Linked DNA regions of Homo sapiens: region 2 is linked to region 1. The links are contacts of gene promoters, found by promoter capture Hi-C in human tissues and cell types (Jung and others, 2019). All regions are on one chromosome and are shown on one strand. Each heading gives the region's core, a stretch centred on a gene start or on the middle of the fragment in contact. The rest is flanking DNA. Distances are from core to core; before and after follow the strand shown. Region 1 holds the start of HOXD4 (homeobox D4). Region 2 has its middle 6.7 kb from the start of NRAL.

Region 1 (2,872 bases), core at 178-2,677:
CCTGCTTGGTAACCCTGACCCTGGCAGAAGAATGAGGGAACTCATTGCTTCAAATTGTCGCCAAGCCCATTAGGCTACCTGAACTGTCTCAGAAAGTGCGGGTGGCTGCGTCGAACGGTGGTGGCTCAGAGGAAGAGATTGGGGCCGGCAGCGACCTAGGTACCTCACTCTGGGTGGGACCCAGAGGTTGTAACGTTGTCTATATATACCCTGTAGAACCGAATTTGTGTGGTATCCGTATAGTCACAGATTCGATTCTAGGGGAATATATGGTCGATGCAAAAACTTCACGTTTCTTCGGAATAGCCAGAGACCAAAGTGCGACATGGAGACTAGAAGCAGCCGGCGCTGGTCAGCCGCCTCGTTCTGTTTTATTACCTTGGACTCCAGGAGGATCAGCTGCGCCTGGTGACATAGAGCAGCTTTTCCTCTCCAGAAGCTCCTCACCTTTAAACAGAGTATCCTCTGGGTGCTGAAAAGAAAGAAAGACAGAAAGAGAGAAAGAGAGAGAGAGAGAGAAAGAGAGAATGCAAGCCTAATTGGTTGCATGGATGCAGGGCCAAAGGGCTAGGTTTTGGGGTACTAGGGAGTGAGGTACAAGGCCAGCTTGCCCAGTCCCAGCTCTGCCCTCCAGGAACATGAGGTGCAAAGGTACCCAAATGGGGGCTTGCTTGTATTTGGGGCCTGTGGGAAGAAAGCAAGCTTCAAAGAAGCCCAGTGGGGAGCTCTAGGGTGCATTTTGACAAGGTGGAGGTGCCCTTGCCACCATCCCAGCCCACCCCCAGCTACATGGGCAAGGGCAGCGAGGGCCCCCTGCTATTTTGGCAGGGCCCAGCTTTGGCTGGGAACCCCCGGGCCTGGGCACTGGTAGAAAGCATGGCGGTTACTCATTGCCTAATTTGATTCAAGCTGGCCAGATTCTGGTAACTTTTGGGTGACCCTGATGAAGACAAAGCCAGGACGGCGGCCTTTGTATGGCAGAATCCCTGCTCCCGCCGGCTGCAGGCAGGGCGGGCAGGCAGGAACCCTCCTCGCCTGGGGCACTCTGCCCAACTCAGAGGCGAGTTCACCCACCCACCTTTCATTGCTCTGTACCCCAATAGGAGGATTCATTCTCCCTTGAGCTGTGCCTACTTGGTGTCGGGGGGCGGGGGTTGCATTCAGCTGGGGGTGAGTGGAAGGGCCACGGAAGGTTGGCAAAATCAGTGGCAGACAAAAGCTGGGATTACCTGAGGGGAATGGGGTGCTGGGGACTGGAACTACATTAATATCTGGCAGGGGCTCTCAAATGTGCCATAGCAAGCTACTTGATTACACGTATGTTATTTAGTTAAATTTGTGAAAATTATGAGATGCTCACCAACCCGGTGATAAACTTGCTCCCTCGCCATTGGCTGGCCTGGTCACATGGCTGCCCAACTTTATTCAGTTGACAGCAAGTAGGAGGGCCCTATGGAAGGAGAAAAAAAGACAACACGAGAAAAATTAGTATTTTCTACCTTCTGAAATTAATGGTCATGAGTTCGTATATGGTGAACTCCAAGTATGTGGACCCCAAGTTCCCTCCGTGCGAGGAGTATTTGCAGGGCGGCTACCTAGGCGAGCAGGGCGCCGACTACTACGGCGGCGGCGCGCAGGGCGCAGACTTCCAGCCCCCGGGGCTCTACCCACGGCCCGACTTCGGTGAGCAGCCTTTCGGAGGCAGCGGCCCCGGGCCTGGCTCGGCGCTGCCTGCGCGGGGTCACGGACAAGAGCCAGGCGGCCCCGGCGGTCACTACGCCGCTCCAGGAGAGCCTTGCCCAGCTCCCCCGGCGCCTCCGCCGGCGCCCCTGCCTGGCGCCCGGGCCTACAGTCAGTCCGACCCCAAGCAGCCGCCCTCCGGGACGGCACTCAAGCAGCCGGCCGTGGTCTACCCCTGGATGAAGAAGGTGCACGTGAATTCGGGTAAGGCTAGGGTCCAGTAACCTTTCTGTCCACATCCCAGCCCGTTAGCCTGGGTCCTCTGGAAGGGGGTGCGAGTAGGTGGGGGCGTGTGGAGCTTCCATGGGCGCCGCAATTACTCTCCCCATAAATTTTTATAGCTGAGGGAGCAGGTCAGGACCATGTGGCTGGCTGCTCGGCTGTGGGCGCAAAAGGGGGTGGGGATGGGGGGGTGGGGGAGGACTCCATTTTCAGAGCAGGGGGAAGGCTGTGGAGGAGCGGGGGATTTCCAAAATGCTTGAGGGTTCCGGACCTGGTGGTGGGCCCAGAAGAAGGAGCACATTTGGGGATCCCGCAAGCCTGGGGTATGTGGGTGTGTTTGAGGAGGTGGGTGGGAGTGAGCGTGTGCGCCGGGGAGAGGGCGGGAGGGAGGAAGCAAGCGAGCTTGGGAGCGCGCGGGGAGGGCCGCGGGCCTCGGGGCGCGCCAGGAAGTGAGCGGCGGAGGCGAGGGGCCTAACTAGTGGCCGGGCGCTGACCTGCCTGTCCTGTCTGTTTTGTCTCGCAGTGAACCCCAACTACACCGGTGGGGAACCCAAGCGGTCCCGAACGGCCTACACCCGGCAGCAAGTCCTAGAACTGGAAAAAGAATTTCATTTTAACAGGTATCTGACAAGGCGCCGTCGGATTGAAATCGCTCACACCCTGTGTCTGTCGGAGCGCCAGATCAAGATCTGGTTCCAGAACCGGAGGATGAAGTGGAAAAAAGATCATAAGCTGCCCAACACTAAAGGCAGGTCATCGTCCTCATCTTCCTCCTCATCTTGCTCCTCCTCAGTCGCCCCCAGCCAGCATTTACAGCCGATGGCCAAAGACCACCACACGGACCTGACGACCTTATAGAAGTGGGGACCCTGGGCCCATCTCTCCCTGCGCACCAGGCTGAGCCGAAGCT
Region 2 (2,872 bases), core at 96-2,595, 360 kb after region 1:
CAAACCTAGATGGTATAGCCTACTACACACCTAGGCCAAATGATATAGCCTATCGCTCCTAGGTTACAAATCTCTACAGCTGTACAGGATGCTGAATACTGGAGGCAATTGTAACATAAGTAGTTGCATATCTAAACATATCCAAACATAGAAAAAGTACAGTAAAAAATATGGTGTAAAAGAAAAAAGATGGTACACTCGTACAGGGCACTTAGCATGAATGAAGTTCACAGGACTGGAAGTTGCTCTGGATGAGTTGGTGAGTAGTGAGGGACTACGAGGGCCTAGGGCATTACTGTACACTGCTGTAGGCTTCATAAACACTGTACACCCAGGATACACTAAATTCATAAAAAACTTTCTTCAAAAATAAATTAACCTTAGTTTACTGTAACTTTTTTACTTTATAAACTTTAAAAATTTTAAAAACTTTTTGGCTCTTTTGTAATAACACTTAGCTTTAAACAGAAACACATCGTACACTTTACAAAAATATTTTCTTTCTTTACGTTCTTATTCTATAAGCTTCTTTCCTGTTAAAAATGTGTTGTTGGTTTTTTGAACTTTTTAGTTAAAAATAAAGACACACACACACAAACACACACACACACACACACACACACACACACACATACATTAGTCTAGGCCGACACAGGGTCAGAATCATCAATATCATTGTCTTCCACCTTCACATCTTGTCCCACTGGAAGGTCTTCAGGGGCAGTAACACCCATGGAGCTGTCATCTATGATGATAACGCCTTCTTCATAGCTCCTGAAGGACCTGCCTGAGGCTGTTTTACAGTTAACACTTTCTTAAAAGTCAAAGGAGTACACTCTAAAATAATGACAAAAGTATATTCTAGTAAATACTAGGTGATGGGAATTTTTTAGCTCCATTATAATCTTATGAGACAACCACTGTATATGTGGGCCATCATTGGATGAAACGTCATTATACGGTGCATGAGTGTATGTGACACAGAAATAATCTAAAGAGCCCAGTGCAGTGCTTTATCAGTCAATAGACAAGAGAAATTGACCTTAACATTTTTCATTGAGATATAATTTACATTGACAATGGGCCAATTTTAAGGTACAGTTCAATGTGTTTTGACAAATGTATGTAGCCATATAACCGACGCCACAATGAAAATTATAGAAAATTGCCACCACCTCAAAATATTCTATTGTATCCCATTGCAATTCCCTCCCTACTCCCACTTTCATTTTTTGTAGAATTTTATATGTAGTCATGCGCCATCTGAAGACATTTCAGTCAAGGATGGGCCACCTCTATGACAGATTATAACGGAGCCGAAACATTTCTATCATTTAGTATTTACTATACTGTACTTTTTGTCATTATTTTAGAGTATACTCCTTTTATTTATTAAAAGAAAACACCCACATTCACTGTAAAACAGCCTCGGGCAAGTCCTTCATGAGGCATTCCATAAGAAGGCATTATTATCATACGAGATGACAGGTCCCTGCATGTTTTTGACCCTGAAAATCTTCCAGTGGGATAAGATGTAGAGGTGGAAGACAGAGATATTGATGATCCTAACTCCGTGTTGGCCTAAACTAATGTGTATATTTGTGTTTTTGTCAAAAAAGTAAAAAATAAATAAATAAAAATAGAAAAAACCTTATAGAATAAGAATATAAAGAAAAAATGTTTTCATACAGCTGTACAATGTGTTTGTGTTTAAAGCTAAGTGTTTTTACAAAACAGTCAAAAAGTTAAAAAATATTTTAAGCTTATAAAGTAAAAATGTTGAAGTAAGCTAAAGTTAATTTATTATTGAAGAAAGATTTTTAAAATAAATTTAGTGTAGCCTAAGTGTACAGTGTTCATAAAGTCTACAGTATACTACTGTATACTACATTATACTGTATACTACATATACTGTATACTACAGTATACATATACTACATATACTGTATACTACAGTAATGTCCTAGGCCCTCACATTCACTCATGACTTACTCACTGACTCACCCAGAGCACCTTCCGGTCCTGCAAGCTCCATTCATGGTAAGTACGCTATACAGATGTATTATTATTTTCTTCTTTTACACCACATTTTTACTGTACCTTTTCTATGTTTGGATATGTTTAGATATGCAAATACTTATTATGTTACAATTGCCTCCAGTATTCAGTACGGTAATATGCTGTACAGGCTTGTAACCTAGGAGCAATAGGCTATACTATTTGGCATAGGTGTGTAGTAGGCTGTACCATCTATGTTTGTGTAAGTGCGCTCTGTGGTGTTCCCACAACGACAAAATCATCAGTATGGAATGCACGACTGTAAATGGAATCAAGCAGTGTATAGTTGTTTGTGTCTAGCTTCTTTCACTTGGCACAGTGCTTCTGATAGTCATCCATGATGTTGCCAGTATCAGTAAGTTCCTTTTTTATTGCTGAGAACTATTTCATTATGTGGATACATAAATATTTTGTTTCTCCATTCACCACTTGATAGACATTTGTGTGATTTCTAGTTTTTGGCTATCATGAACAAATTACTATAATTATTTCAGCATAAGTCTTTGTATGAATATGTGTTTTCATTTTTATTGAGTAAGTACGAAAAAGTGGGATTGCTGAGTTGTCTGGTAAGTCTGTGTTTAATTTTACAAGAAACTTCTAAACTACTTTCTAAAATGGCCACACCATTTTGCATTTCCACTAGCTGCATATGAAATTTCCAGTTGCTCAACATCTTTGGCAACACTCAGTGTTATCAGTATTTCTAATTTTAGTTAATCTAGTAGATAGGAAGTAACATCTTATTGTGCTTTTAATGTACATTTCCCTAATGATGAGTGATGTTCAGCATCTTTTCATATGATTGTTTCTT

What was found. The method cuts DNA at HindIII sites, captures the fragments that hold promoters and counts their contacts. A contact is called where the count stands out against the background at its distance.
Region 2: a fragment that was not itself captured here is called in contact with the fragment with the promoter of HOXD4 in region 1 in 1 of the 25 tissues and cell types used here (H1 embryonic stem cells).

The regions. Positions count from the first base shown.
Region 1 is chr2:176,150,123-176,152,994 of GRCh38, forward strand. It overlaps HOXD4 (homeobox D4), which reads left to right and starts at 1,428. Exons shown (of 2, transcript NM_014621.3): 1 at 1,428-1,944; 2 at 2,486-2,872. The coding sequence starts at 1,512. The coding sequence ends at 2,820. It overlaps MIR10B (microRNA 10b), which reads left to right and starts at 181; the gene lies at 181-290. It also overlaps a transcript of HOXD3 not described here. RefSeq lists an enhancer at 1,147-1,880. The HindIII fragment of the contact is 6,191 bases long and covers 1-2,872 here.
Region 2 is chr2:176,513,012-176,515,883 of GRCh38, forward strand. No RefSeq gene overlaps it. Among named protein-coding and RNA genes, the nearest start is that of NRAL, 6.7 kb to the left of the region's middle. The HindIII fragment of the contact is 6,248 bases long and covers 1-2,872 here.